2 separate regions of the Homo sapiens genome follow, and region 2 is linked to region 1. Evidence: promoter capture Hi-C in 16 types of primary human blood cells and fetal thymus (Javierre and others, 2016). All regions are on one chromosome and are shown on one strand. Each heading gives the region's core, a stretch centred on a gene start or on the middle of the fragment in contact. The rest is flanking DNA. Distances are from core to core; before and after follow the strand shown.

Region 1 (7,120 bases), core at 2,957-5,456:
GGTAGGGATTGGGGGGTCAGAACCCACTCACTTTTGCCTGTTAAAGTTGCCCTCCTGACGCTGGCAGCTCTGCCTTGGTCACTGGGGATGCGGCTCGTTGCTCAGCCACCAGTGGCCTTGCGGTATTGTCCACCATCCACTAGAGTGGGATGAAGTCCAGAGTGTGGGTATACATCTCAGATGCCCATCTACCCACTGGGGACTTCAATGCCAGCTGCATTTGGTTTGGTTTTCTTAACTGTTGGCTTCTCCCCACAGCGTTTTTTGTTTTTTTTTAAACATTCATATTGTTTTCAAACTTGGAATTCATAGACACTCTGGCTCTAGGTTCCTTAAGGGGGAAAACAAAAGATGACTTTATTTCACATTCAAGAAAATCAGTTCAGTTCCAAAGCTGTGGTCCTTCCAGCCACTTCTAGGGACACTGGGGAACCTTGTTAAACGTTGACATCAGTGCTCTCCAGCCGTGCTGTCACCCTCCTATCTTCTGGATCTGCCTTCGCGATGGTCAGTGACAGCTTCTGGAAGCTGAGCACACACAGGTGCACAGCCATGCTGTGGTCTGGCCTGCTACGGCAGCATGGCAGCTCTGGTGGAGCCTTCTCCCTTGCCATTTGGTTCCCCTGTGCCAAGTAGCTGCAGGCTGCCCCTCAAATCTTCATTTGTCCCTTTTCACTTCCTGCAGAACAAGCCTGGGTTAGAGGGTCTGCTGGAAATGGCCTTTGAAGACCAAGGATACCAGGATGTGTGCACTCTGTCGTGTTCTGTGATGAATGGGAAACGTAGGCTTCCAGAAAGCCAGCTCTCTTCTGAAATGTGACGGACCTAAGCAGGAAGTCATCCAGGACAGGAGTGGCTCAGTGTTGGGGATGGACGCTGTCGCCCAGCCATGCTCCACCAGGGCCACCAATGTGTAGTTGGCTGGTGGTCTTCGGGCATGTGAGACCTGCTCTTCACTGTTTCCACCCCACTTGGTGGCCTCCAGGATGGTAGTGGCACCCTCAGAGCCCCATCTTCAGCATGTTCTGAAGCCTCAGAGTGGAAATTCCTGCTAAGGCTCTGTGTGGACGCCTTTCTCCCGTGATCTAAAGGGGACACTGTACTCAAGCTTTTGACCTCATGCCTTGTGTAGTAAAAAAGGATTTGGGGGTTTTGTTTGGTTCCTGAGAGGGTTGTGTTTTGTTTTTGTTTCCTTTTGTTTATGTTTTGGCCTTTCCTCTTTGTCTTTCCATGTAGACCAGATATTTGAAAGGGCAGACGATGGCTAGAGGTGTAATGTGCAGCTTGTTTATACGGTATTTTGGGAAACTTACCTTGGATGGGAAATCGAATCGTGGATTCACCAGGCCGGTGCTGGCACACTCACCCTCGCCCTTTCCCTCCGGTTCAGTACCTATTGTTTCTCCTTTCAAATATGTGATTGTACTAGCTCTTTCCATATGAAAGAATTCTCCTTATTTAAATAAAAAAAGTTTAAAAAGATAAAGCTGAACGTGCTTTCTCAGGTTGTACATCCCTCGTTTCTTGGTCATTTGACCAGAGAGACCTACAGATCAAAGAATTCTAATTTTACAGAGTTCACACGGAAATTAGGAGTGGCACGGCTGAAATGCCTTAACAGAAGCTGTGTGGGTAGAGAAGGGATTGAAACCCGTGGCTAAGAAGCATCTTCCAAATGCGGCAGCATCAAGCACTCCACCCTCTTCCCACGGATGGCATCTGGTTGTGCACAGTGCCTGCCTGTGGCCCCGTCACTTGCCGTGAGAAACGAGCTGGTCAGAGGAGGTAAGCATTTGATGTGGCGTGTTGTGTTGTCACTTCTAGCGGTGCTTTTGCAGGAAGTGGAGGAGGATTATGCTGTGCTTTGGGGTGGGGAGGGAGCAAGCCAGGCCTGGGGTAGCGAAGGGTAAAAGGTAAGAATGGGCTGAGGCAGCAGTTCTCGGTTTTGCCATTGCCTCACTGACCTGGGGAAAGACGTTTCACCACCTGAGTCAGTCTCCTTAATCATAAAACACAGATTGTAATGGTATCGACCTCATGGCGTAGTGTGGATTCAAAGTCACCAGTAGCTTTTAGCTTAGTGCCTAGAACCAGCTAAGAAAACTTATAAATTACCCCCAAGAAATAAAACGCTGTTTCCATGAGGAACCCCAGTCCCTCAACTTCCTTCTAAGCCTTTTGACTATGGAAGAGAGTTGGGGACCTGGCCATGGGCATCTCAGCTTTAACTAGCCACACTCACTGCCCTGATTTACTGCTCCCTAGGGACAGGTGGCTCACAAAATCTCAAACGGAGACCAGCCCTGAAAGAGGCTAGTCCTAAGGTTGGGGGCTTGCAAGATGGAGGCTGTAAGTCCTGAGGCACCACCACTGTTAGCATGGCATGAACCAAAGCTTAACAGCCCAGCCCCACTCCCTCCTGGGGCCCAGGGAACCCTCCCTGCCCACTGTAAATACAGTTGCCTGCAGGCTCTGGCCACAAACCCAGGTGAGCCCCAGCTCCTTGCCTCTCTGTGGGATCTTGGGTGAGTCACATAACCCCTCAAGGGTAAGCCATAAAGAAGTAACCACGAAATTCTAACTGGTGTCATCTAATGCTATGTTGCCCAACATGGAAAAAAAGTCTTGCAGGCAGCCAAGAACCATAATGAAGGTTATTAAACCTGCAGTGTGCCCTTTTGGTCTGTATAGATTAACATACAAATAGACCAGGAGATCAAGAAGGAGCGAGGCTGAGAAGAGTGATCCATCAGCCTGGTTGCGTTGCTGTCAGTTACCCTGCTCTGGGTGCCGACTGTTCAGGGAAAACATGGGAAGGGGTGCATTGACCCAACCAAAAGTACCATGTCTGCTCCAAAGCAGGCCTTTGGGAAGGCTCTTGACCCTCAGCAGAGGGGGCTGGAGAGGCTGATGGATGAGGAGGAGCCCTGGGAATGGAGGAAGAAGCCTCCAGTCTTCTGCCACGGAGTTTAGGGGAGATGCCCCCACTGGAGCCTCTGATGGTCATGCAGCCCCCACTGATGTCCAGGTTTTTTTGGTTTTGTTTTTTGTTTTGAGACGGTCTCACTTTGTAGTCCAGGCTGGAGTGCAGTGGTGAGACCAAGGCTCACTGCAGCCTCGACCTCTCTGCCCCAAGTGATCTCCTGCCTCAGCCTCCCTTGTAGCTGGGACTGCAGGCAGACGCCAAGGGGCCCCGCTAATTTTTGTATTTTTTTGTAGAGACGGGGTCTCGCTGTGTTGCCCAGGCTCTCCTGGACTCAAGCGGGCTCACGGATCCTCCCACCTCGGCCACCCAAAGTGCTGGGGTTACAGGCGTGAGCCACCGCCCCCGGCCCTAGGTCCGTTTTAAATGCCCTTACCCTCAGCCACTTCACCGCTAGATGTATGTGCAAGCAGGATCGTGGCATCGATGTTTTTCGGCAAGGAAACTAGGAGCGCCCGCGGGCGTGGGGGCACGTGCCTGTGGTCTCAGCTGCTCTGGAGGCCGAGGAGGGAGGATCGCTTCGGGCAGAGAGGTCGAGGCTGCAGCAAGCCGTGGTCCTGCCACTGTACTCCAGCCTGGGCGACAGAGCGAGACCCCGTGTCTTAAAAAAAAAATTAAGGTCGGACGCAGTGGCTCACGCCTGTAATCCCAGCACTTTGGGAGGCCGAGGTGGGCGGATCACTTCAGGTCAGGAGTTCGAGACCAGCCTGGCCAACATGGTGAAACCCTGTCTCTACTACAAATACAAAAATTAACCGGGCGTGGTGGCGTGCGCCTTCAATCTCAGCTACTCGGGAGGCTGAGGCAGGAGAATCGCTTGAACCCGGGAAGCGGAGGTTGCGGTGAGCCGAGATCGCGCCATTGCACTCCAGCCTGGGCAACAAGAGCGAAACTCCGTCTCAAAAAAAAAGAAAAGAAAAGAAAAGAAAAAAACTAGGAGCAAACTGGCGCGCCCGGCAGAACGCCGTTGTGCAGACGCAGAATTAAGATCTTCACGCCAGATGGAGTGAAAAAGCAAGGAGCAGAAGATGGGTGGGAGCCCACTGCGCTTTTTAAAATCTGCACGTCTGCTTAGAGTACACAGAAATCCTGGCACACAAAACAGTAGCACCCGAGAGAGGGGAGGTCGCCGCGTTTCACACCTGCCTCTCCTCCGGGACCGGCGCCCTCGCCCGCTGCGCACGCGCGTCACCCTCTCCCAGTGCGCACGCGCGCTGCTGCCCGTCTGGCCCCGCAGGCTCGGTGAATCGAACGTTGAGCAGGGCGGTGGGTGGTGCGGAGTGCCGAGCGGCCTCACCCCCAACCGTCGGCCCAGTCGGACGGTTCCGAGGCGTTGCCGGGAGCCGGGCGCGGCTCTGTGTGGACTCGGAGAAACGCGGGTACATTTGGGGACACCGGGGACGAGAGCCCAGCCCGGACTTGGGGGAGTCCGTCAGTGCCGGACGCGGGTCCCTGGCTTGCGGACGGGCTGGGGCCGGGGGCGTCCCCGTCTTTCCGGAGCTGGGGGCGGGGTTCGGGCCCGGGCAGATGCGGCGTTCGGGCGGCCGAGCCCCGAAGTAAGAACTCCGTGGCGCGTGCAGCCCTAGGGAGGAAGGGCGTGCTGCGGGTGCAGTCTCAGGGTGAGGACGGAGCTGGGGCCGACGCAGCCTCGGGAGTTGGTGGACGGGACAGGTGCGGCCTGTGGGGAAGAAGGGCCGGCCAGGGAGATGCGGTCTGCAAGGGGAGAGGAGGCACTCCCAGGACAGATGGGACCTTTTGGGACGAAGGCGCTCAAGGCAGATGCAGCTCAGGGAGGGAAGGGCGCGTCCAGGGTAGATGGGGCCTGAGGAGACCAGCGGGGCGCCAACGGCCAGATGCGGCTTTGGTGTGAGACAGGGTGTCCCAGGCCTGATGCAGCCTCAAGAGAAGCGGAGCTCAAGGGAAGATGAAGCCTGGAGGAGAACGTGGGGGCGCAGGGTGCAAATGCACCCTCCAGGCGAGAAAGGGAGCACCCGGGGATGATGTGCCGCTGGGATAGAAGGCAGGGAGGCACTGGGGGCAGATGCATCCTTGAGGAGAGATGAGGAGGCCCCGAGGCTCGGCCAGGTTGGGGTCCCTGGGCTGTAAGCAGCTGAGATGGCACCCAGGAGCTGCCCAGGGTCAGGTAGCTGTGGCCGCACTGTGGGCTTCTGGTCGTCGGGGAGGGAGGGGAGAAACCCTGGCGTTCCTTAGCAGTGTTCTCGCGCCCAAGACGTGCTCGGCAGGTTTTGTGGAATGAGTTGTTGAAAGGAGTGAATGTCCAGTCCTGAGATCCCCTGAATTCCCACCCGAGTTCACTGCTAGTGCCCCTCACCCCACATGTCTACCTGAACCAAGGCTCCAGGAACTTCGGTCTTTCTCAGCAGCCCGGCTGTGCTGTGGTTCTCCTCGTGTGTCCGGGAGCCGGGTGGCTGGGGATCCCTTCTGTAGCCTCTCGTGAGCCCTCATGGACCACGGCTCCTCCCTTCTTTTCTAGGGCGTCTGCCTGAGCCCGCTTTTCTACAAGATGTGGGGATTTTTGAAGCGCCCTGTAGTGGTGACGGCTGACATCAACTTGAGCCTTGTGGCCCTGACTGGGATGGGGTTACTGAGCCGGCTGTGGCGACTCACCTACCCGCGGGCTGTGGTGTAAGCTAAATGACTCCATTCCCAGGGTGAATCTAGAATTGTACTTTGTGACAGGAGGCGCCCTTACTGAATAGCATAAATGGGAGAGTGAAATCCTGGCTTCTTGGTGATAGGTGTTTTTGGCAGTGAGAGGAGAGACCAGTCTGTCCCCAGGACAGCCCCAGCAGAGTACACCTTTTAGGTCTTGCCTTCTGAGTCTGTAACAGGTGAAATTTGGCCCATTAAAGGGGTGCAGTAGAGGAAAATCTGGTTGCCAGCCTTAAGTAACAGTTTTAAAGTCTGGACGGCAGAGGATTAATGGATTTGGAAGTAAGTCTTCACTGTTGAGAGCACTTTTTAGAATGTGTTTTTGTCATAATGGGAAGTGATTGCTGTTATTATTGAAGGGCTCTTTATTAACTGATTAATGTGTGTATGTGTGTGTGTGTGTGTGTGTGTGTGTGTGTGTGTGTTTTTGAGACGGAGTCTTGCTGTGTCGCCCAGGTTGGAGTGCAGTGGTGCCATCTCGGCTCACTGCAACCTCTGCCTCCTGGGTTCAAGCAATTCTCTGCCTCAGCCTCCCGAGTAGCTGAGATTACAGGTGCCCGCCACCACACCCAGCTAATTTTTGTATTTTTAGTAGAGACGGGATTTCACCATCTTGGCCAGGCTGGTATTGAACTCCTGACCTCATGATCCACCCACCTGGGTCTCCCAAAGTGTTAGGATTACAGGCGTGAGCCACTCCGCCCTGCTGCATGTTCTTTTTTGTTTAACTTTTTATTATGGAAAACGTCAAACATATACAAAAGCAGGGAGACAAGTATAATGAATGACCCCCCCACACACACCAGTATTTTCATTACCCAGCTTCACCTTATCAGTTCACAGCCAGGCCCCTCCCTGCAGTGGTTTTTACTTTGCAGCAAATCCTAGTATTCATAGATAATTCAGCGGTATATCTGTAAAAGATGAGGATTTTTTTTTTTTTTTTGGAGACATAGTTTTACTCTGTCGCCCAGGCTGTAGTGCAATGGTGCGATCGTGATTCTCCTACTTCAGCCTCCCGAGTACCTGGGATTACAGGCACCTGCCACCACGCCTGGCTCATTTTTGTATTTTTAGTAGAGAAGGGGTTTCACCATGTTGGCCAAGCTGATCTTGAACTCCTGACCTTGTGATCCACCTACCTTGGCCTCCCAAAGTGCTGGGATTACAGGCGTGAGCCACCGTGCCTGGCTGAGGATTCTTAAAAACAAAAATCACATAACCACAGTTGCATTATCATGCCTGAGAAATTGACAGCAGTTTCTTGGTTATCTTCACCTCTCCCTGATTGAAAACATGTTATTGCAGTTGATTCCCACGTTTTCCTTTCATACTTGCAGCCGTTTCATTGGGTCATCGCTAGCCACAGACATGTGCTGCTGGTGGGGGCGGGGGTGGGGGGGTTGGGTAGGTGGGTAAGCAGGATTAGCCTTGCGTCCCAGGAGGTCTTTCAGCAGGTTGGCT
Region 2 (7,120 bases), core at 2,011-4,510, 360 kb before region 1:
TTGACAGGGAAGGAGTGAGTGGAATACATCACCAAAAAAAAAAAAACCACTATTCTTTGTGATCTTTTCTGTATGAGAAAAAACATATACATAGAAAAACAACTTGGAGATGGATTTAAAGTCTAAATGGTGGTTATTTCTGGGTGATGGGAACATGGAGATTTTTGTTTATATTTTCTTGACTTTTTTTCTCCTTTTTGAAACATTTCTTAAGTAATAGATGTTTATTGAAGGAAAATGAGAGCATGCAAAACAATGGCCACAGTCAACATTTTGGTACCTATCCTCCATGAAAATGAATGCACACATATAAATACTAGTCTGTATTTAAACAATTTTTACAGTGACATTTGTATCACTTGTGAAAAGAAACTTTTTTTTTTTTTTTTTTTTGTGGAGACAGGGTCTTACTCTGTTGCCTAGGTTGGAGTGCAGTGGCATGACCACAGCTCACTGTAGCCCTAATCTCCCAGGCTCAGGCAGTCACCTAAGCCTCCCAAGTAGCTGGAACTACAAGCATGCGCCACCATATGCAGCTATTTTTTAAATGTTTTGTAGAGATAGGGTCTTACTGTGTTGCTCAGGCTGGTCTCAAACACCTGGGCTCATGTGATTCTTCTGCTTCAGCCTCCCAAAGTGCTGGGATTATACGCATGATACACTGTGCATGACCAGAAAATATAAAACTTTTAAAAAGAGCATTGTTTCATATGTTGGAATTTGACTAATATTTCTCTTTTTGAATTCTGTGAGTATATAACTGATACAATTTTTTTCTTCTATTATGACCAGTTTCTTACCTAAGCAAAAATGTATGACCAGTTGGTTTGTATAAGGTTAGCAATAACTTAGGGGTATATTCTCTTCCTGCATCCCAGTGCACAGTGAGTTGTATATCACAAATAGAGCCACTCAGATACTTGGGCCCTAACAACTGGCAGCACTACCCCAAGTGATATACCAGATGGCTTGCAGAGTGTTGTATCAGGGTAGTCCATTATTCATAGTGTGTGTACTCTTTGTGTTGTTTTTTTTTCCTCCTTATTCAGCCATGAATAAGGGTACCATGAACTACCTATACCCAGCTGCCTGGTGTGTCTGTAATAAGCAGAGCAGCCTGTGAGATTAGGAGCCTCTGGGATGGGACGAGGTTTGTTTCTGAGCCTTTGCTACTAGCCCATTCAATGCTGGAGCACAATCAGAGGCCAGTTTTACTGTTAGCCTTTCCTAGAGAAACTCCCCTCTTCCTTCACAGTTGGTCCAGAGGTTATAGTTGTGTTCAGATGTGTAGAAGAGAGCCCCTGCGGGGAGAAAGTCCGTCCCATCAGCTAAGTCTAGCTAAAGCCTACTTCATGGGTTCAGAAGACATTAATGGTTCCACCTGTTTCTACACTGCAGTTCTAAGGATGCTGTATTGATCAGAAGTAGTAGTAGCATGATGGTTTTCCAATAATCAGTTCTGTTTTCAGTGGAAAAAATGCTTTTGATTTATTTAGGGTCTGGTATATATTTTTCATGTCAGTTTACCTAATATGCATGAAAGTGTTTTAACATCTATGTATGTCTTTACAGAAGTTAGTTGTAGCTGGTTCCATATCTATTGTATAAAGAAGTATTAACAGAATAGGTTTGCTTGCATTATTATACTTTCATCAATGTGACAGTTTACTTGGATTTTTGTTTTCAGAAAGTGGTATTTTCATACTTGTATCTAAGTATTACGTTGCATTAGACAAAGTGTCTTCCATGAAGATAAACTGCCATCTTAGCTAATTTGGAACAACCAAGTCCTATTAATATAAATAGAAAATATTGACACAAAGAATTCTTTTCTTATTTAGTTGGTTATTTAATTTAAAGATTAATATTTTTACCTTATGGAAAGTTTGGAAAATAGAAAAAAAAATTATTCATTTTTGAGACAGGGGTCTCACTCTGTTGTGCAGGCTGGAGTGTAGTGGCAGGATCTTGGCTCACTGCAGCCTCTGTCTCCCAAGTCCAAGCGATCCTCCCACCTCAGCCTCCCAAGTAGCTGGGACTACAGGCACAAGCCATCACACCTGGCTGATTTTTGTATTTTTTTTGTAGCAACAGGGTCTCACTTTGTTCCCCAGGCTGGTCTCAAACTCCTGGACTCAAAGGGTCCTCCTGCTTTGCCCTCCCAAAGCTCTGGGATTACAGGCATGAGCCACTGCGCCCAGCCTTCCATTGACTTTTTTTTTTCTTTTTAACCATTTGGATTGCATTAAATATCTTTTTCATTTTTTGCATTATGTTTGTAAGCTTTATTCTTAGAAGAGAAATTACTGGGTCTGTTTTTTACAGTTTTTTATACAATGCCAAAATGTTTTCTTAAAAAAAATACTAGTTACCTACCAGTGATAAAAAGTTTCAGGTTTGTTTTACCCATCCAAACATAAGGGGTTAGACATATTTAAATTCTTATAATTTAGAGGACAAATTAAAAATGTACCTTGTTTATATTTCTTTGATTAGAGAGATTGAATGTGTTTTCTTTATGTGAGTTAGTTTCCCTGTTTATTAGTCCTGAAATTTTAAAATCTCAATTTGTATGAGCTTTTTAAAAAATAGAAAACATCTTATTTGTCATTTGCTATGGATCTTTTTTTTTAGTTCATTACCATTTAGTTATTGTACCTGAGTAGCTATTTTTTACACAAATCTTAACCTTCTCCCTTTGCGATTGTTTTTTTTTTGGTCACTTCTAAATTTATCAAGGTGTTAGATTCTGAGACCTAACATATCTATCAATTTGCCTCCTTTGTTTTGAGATACCTGTATTTATGTGACTTTCTATGTGTATTTATCTGGAATTACTTTTAGTGAAATAAGGTGGAGGTCTGAATTAAAACTTTTTCCTGGTTGTTAATGAAATGTTGCAGTGACTGAACTGTTTTGTGTGCCATAGTAGCACTGAGAAGTCCATGAAGTCCAATTATTCTAATGTCTTTCCTTAGTTTTCCTTCAGTTTCATTTATCTCATGAGACCTGAAAACTCCAACATGAACTGTGTACCCATGTGTTCTTTTTGCTTCTTAAACTAGTAACATTTCTGGCTTTATTCTACCACAAATTCTTTTTCACTTGCTTTCTATTATGTGAACCTCCACTGTTACAGTGTTAACATTTTCCTTCCTTTTTTTGTCACTGCAGGAAGTACTCCCACTACCCCAACCTCCTCTCAAGCCCCACAGAAACTGGATGCTTCTGCAGCTGCAGCCCCTGCCTCTCTGCCACCTTCATCACCTGCTGCTCCCATTGCCACTTTTTCTTTGCTTCCTGCTGGTGGAGCCCCCACTGTGTTCTCCTTTGGTTCTTCATCTTTGAAGTCATCTGCTACGGTCACTGGGGAGCCCCCTTCATATTCCAGTGGCTCCGACAGCTCCAAAGCAGCCCCAGGCCCTGGCCCATCAACCTTCTCTTTTGTTCCCCCTTCTAAAGCCTCCCTAGCCCCCACCCCTGCAGCGTCTCCTGTGGCTCCATCAGCTGCTTCATTCTCCTTTGGATCATCTGGTTTTAAGCCTACCCTGGAAAGCACACCAGTGCCAAGTGTGTCTGCTCCAAATATAGCAATGAAGCCCTCCTTCCCACCCTCAACCTCTGCTGTCAAAGTCAACCTTAGTGAAAAGTAAGTCACTTCTAAAGTTTGATTCTTCTGTGAGTTGGGTAGAAATATTGGATGTTATTTACTAAAAGTAGAGTCACTCTGAGAGGAGTTAACTGAGTAGAATTTTTTTACCCAGAGTGATACTTGCAAATGGCAAAAATTCAACCAACATAAAATACTGGCATTTCATCAGTGAATAGAGTCCAGAAGGGTCTCTTAGCTAGCATTTTATTTTTTTGACTATGGGATTTATATTCAGGTATTTGTTTTGCTTTTTTACGTTACAAATGTAGGAAATATTCCTTATTTTAAAAAAAGAAGCAATCCAGAGTATGCATCCTGGAAGGGAAATGAATCCCTTGTAGTCTTTTTTCCTCCCTGTGTCTACCCTTAACTCTCTCTGAACTGCTGTCTACACAGCCACAAAGTCATCTTGTGACACTGTAAATTGTTAGGTGATTCTTCTGCTTGACAGTCCCTATGAAGCCCCGTGGCTGCTCACTGCTAATTCTTAGGTTGGTATCCAGTTTCCTCCAGATCTGGGTCGGGCAGCTCACTCATTTCTTATTTATTTACTTCTTTATCTTGTTCTTTTCTTCCCACTAGAATGTAAGCTTTTGGAGGGAAGCAATCCCTTATATCTTGTAACCCCTCCCAAGATAACCATGAGTTCCCAAGATAACCATCGAGTATAAGTACTACCAGCTTTTTCCCTACTTGCCTGTACTATCTGTTGTTGCTATGGTGGTGCTGCTGCCACCACAGTTACTGTTAATACTGAATTGGCACACATCCACTTCATGCTAAGGGTTGCATAGTGTTCCATTTTGTTGACTGCACCACAGTTTATCTGACCAGTCATCTAATGCTGGAGTTTAGATTGTCTACAGACTTTTGCTCTTTAGGTGGAACCGACTTTACATTTCCTTTAGGCCATAAGTATCCCAAAGACAGTTCCCTGCATTCCTCTTCCTTTTTCACTCCCCAGAGAAGGTGCTCACTCTCAAAACGAGTTCTCAGTAATTTCCTTGGTAAGAGAAAGTACTAACTCTCCTAAGCATAATTGTGTCCCACCTCCTGTTTAAAACTCAGCTGGAAACAATAGTATTTCATATCATGATAAACTTGGTATTTCATATTGTGATAAACTTAGTTTTGATATTTCCCCTGAATAATTAATTCCTAAATAAGCAGACGAAAAGATAAATGTTTCCTTGCAGCTTTCACCTTTTATAAGAAATAGCTAAACATTTTTGTTTCCTGAAGGCAAAAAGTATGTTATCTTTGTAAGTTAACATAAAAGATAATAAGTTATCTTTTGATGACATTGCTCATGCTAGTGTAAAAGAATCTTCTAGCAGGCTCTTCTGAGGCCTTCAGGCTGCCATTTTTCAGGTTTACTGCTGCAGCTACCTCTACTCCTGTTAGTAGCTCCCAGAGCGCACCCCCGATGTCGCCATTCTCTTCTGCCTCCAAGCCAGCTGCTTCTGGACCACTCAGCCACCCCACACCTCTCTCAGCACCACCTAGTTCCGTGCCATTGAAGTCCTCAGTCTTGCCCTCACCATCAGGTATGATTTTAAGCAGACAACTTTAGACCTCAGCCCTGCCTTCTCAGATTAACGGTTTTAAGTGTTAAGAGTCGTAGCTAACATAGTTGGACAAGGTTATTTTTTCTTGCTTCCTGTATCATACATTAATGATTAATGTGCTGTGATTTTCATACTCTGAATTGGGAGATTTGCTCTTGCTTAAATGCTGCCACTCTTCTCTCTGACACTTCTTATGGAGCTAAGTGTATTTAATGAGTCAAAAATGCCTTGCTCTTGGGCATTTATTTTCATATGGAGCCTGCCCTCCATGAAGAGCAGTTACATAACAGTTCTTTAAGAAGCACAGGCACAAGAGTTGTTTGGCGGGGTGCGGTGGCTCACGCCTATAAACCCAGCACTTTGGGAGGCCAAGGCAGGTGGATCACCGGAGGTTAGGAGTTCGAGACCAGCCTGGCCAACATGGCAAAACCCCATCTCTACTAAAAATACAAAAATTAGCCAGGTGTGGTGGTGGGTGCCTGTAATCCCAGCTACTCAGGAGGCTGAGGCGGGAGAATCACTTGAACCTAGGAGGCAGAGATTGCAGGGAGTCGAGATCACGCCACTGCTCTCCAGCCTGGCGACAGAGCGAGACTCTGTCTCAAAAAAAAAAAAAAGTACAGAGGAGAGAGTACCTGCAGTGATTATATTCATATTTTCACAGTCAGTCATACTGTAAACAGGAAGTTTTGTTTTGTTTTTTGAGACCCTCTCACTCTCTCACCCAAGCACATCACTGCAGCCTCTACCTCCTGGGCTCAAGCGATCTTCCCACCTTAGCCTCCTGAGTAGCTGGGACTACAGGCATGTACCACCACCGTCGGCTAATTTTTAAATTTTTTTGTAGAGACAAAGTCTTGCCATGTTGCTCAGGCTGGTCTCAAACTCCTGGGCTCAAGCAATCCTCCTGCCTCAGCCTCCCAAAAGGCTAGGATTACAGGTTTGAGCCACCATACCTGGCTCCTAAAATTTTAATATATTTTTTTCATTATCTTAGAACAGAGGCTAGCACAACTGGTGGTCATCACTCTTTAAAATAAATCATGAAAGTGGGCCAGGGGCAATGTGTAACTTAATTTCTTAGATTTGGAGAAAGGACATTTGTGATAGGAGAAATAAAGGTAATAAATGCCATCTATTTTAACTGACTTCTTTTTCAAGCAGGACGATCTGCTCAGGGCAGTTCAAGCCCAGTGCCCTCAATGGTACAGAAATCACCCAGGATAACCCCTCCAGCGGCAAAGCCAGGCTCTCCCCAGGTATGTTTAAATTCAGCTTGCAATGTTTGTGTTTATTAATTTACTGCCCCAAGCATACCTATGAATAAAATGAGTTTTCATGTTTTATAATTCAGACCTTGGACATAGTAATTGGGACTATGTGATAGTAAATACCAAAGTGCGAGGTTTGAATACTTGTATACTCGTAAAAGCCATTTAGCTATTTTAATTTTTTATTCATGTATAATACAAATAGAAAAAAGTACACATGATACATGTACAGCTCAGTGAATTGTCAACAACTGAACATACCTTGGTAACTAGCATCCAGATCAAGAAACAGAATTTTACGAGAACCTGGCTGGGCACAGTGGGTCATGCCTGTAATCCCAGCACTTTGGGAGGCCAAGGCGGGCGGATCACCTGAGGCCAGTAGTTCGAGACTAGCCTGGTCGACATGGTGAAACCCCGTCTCTACTAAAAACGCAAAAATTAGCCGGGCGTGGTGGCACGTACTTGTAGTCCCAGCTCCTGAGGAGGCTGAGGCATGAGAATCACTTGAACCCGGGAGGCGGAGGCCAGAACCCCAGAGTTCTTTTTCACCTGTCCCCTTCTAGTCACTACTCTTGCCAAAGAGTAGCTGATTTGATTTCCAACAGCATAGATGAGGTTAGCCTGCC

The links. The method cuts DNA at HindIII sites, captures the fragments that hold promoters and counts their contacts. A CHiCAGO score of 5 or more calls a contact.
Region 2: a contact is called between a fragment that was not itself captured here and the fragment with the promoter of POMT1 in region 1, in 3 of 17 cell types (total CD8 T cells, M2 macrophages and non-activated CD4 T cells). The highest score is 5.8, in total CD8 T cells.

The regions. Positions count from the first base shown.
Region 1 is chr9:131,498,712-131,505,831 of GRCh38, forward strand. It overlaps POMT1 (protein O-mannosyltransferase 1), which reads left to right and starts at 4,207. Exons shown (of 20, transcript NM_001077365.2): 1 at 4,207-4,362; 2 at 5,478-5,629. The coding sequence starts at 5,508. It overlaps PRRC2B (proline rich coiled-coil 2B), which reads left to right. Exons shown (of 32, transcript NM_013318.4): 32 at 1-1,482. It also overlaps the pseudogene LOC124902290. RefSeq lists enhancers at 1,305-2,504, 3,993-4,860, 4,861-5,726, 5,098-5,157, 5,638-5,717 and 1 more and silencers at 4,108-4,307, 4,378-4,527. The HindIII fragment of the contact is 12,581 bases long and covers 2,393-7,120 here.
Region 2 is chr9:131,141,106-131,148,225 of GRCh38, forward strand. NUP214 (nucleoporin 214) reads left to right here. Exons shown (of 36, transcript NM_005085.4): 12 at 3,175-3,649; 13 at 5,024-5,199; 14 at 6,385-6,479. Among named protein-coding and RNA genes, the nearest start is that of NUP214, 19 kb to the left of the region's middle. RefSeq lists an enhancer at 3,122-3,623. The HindIII fragment of the contact is 1,959 bases long and covers 2,282-4,240 here.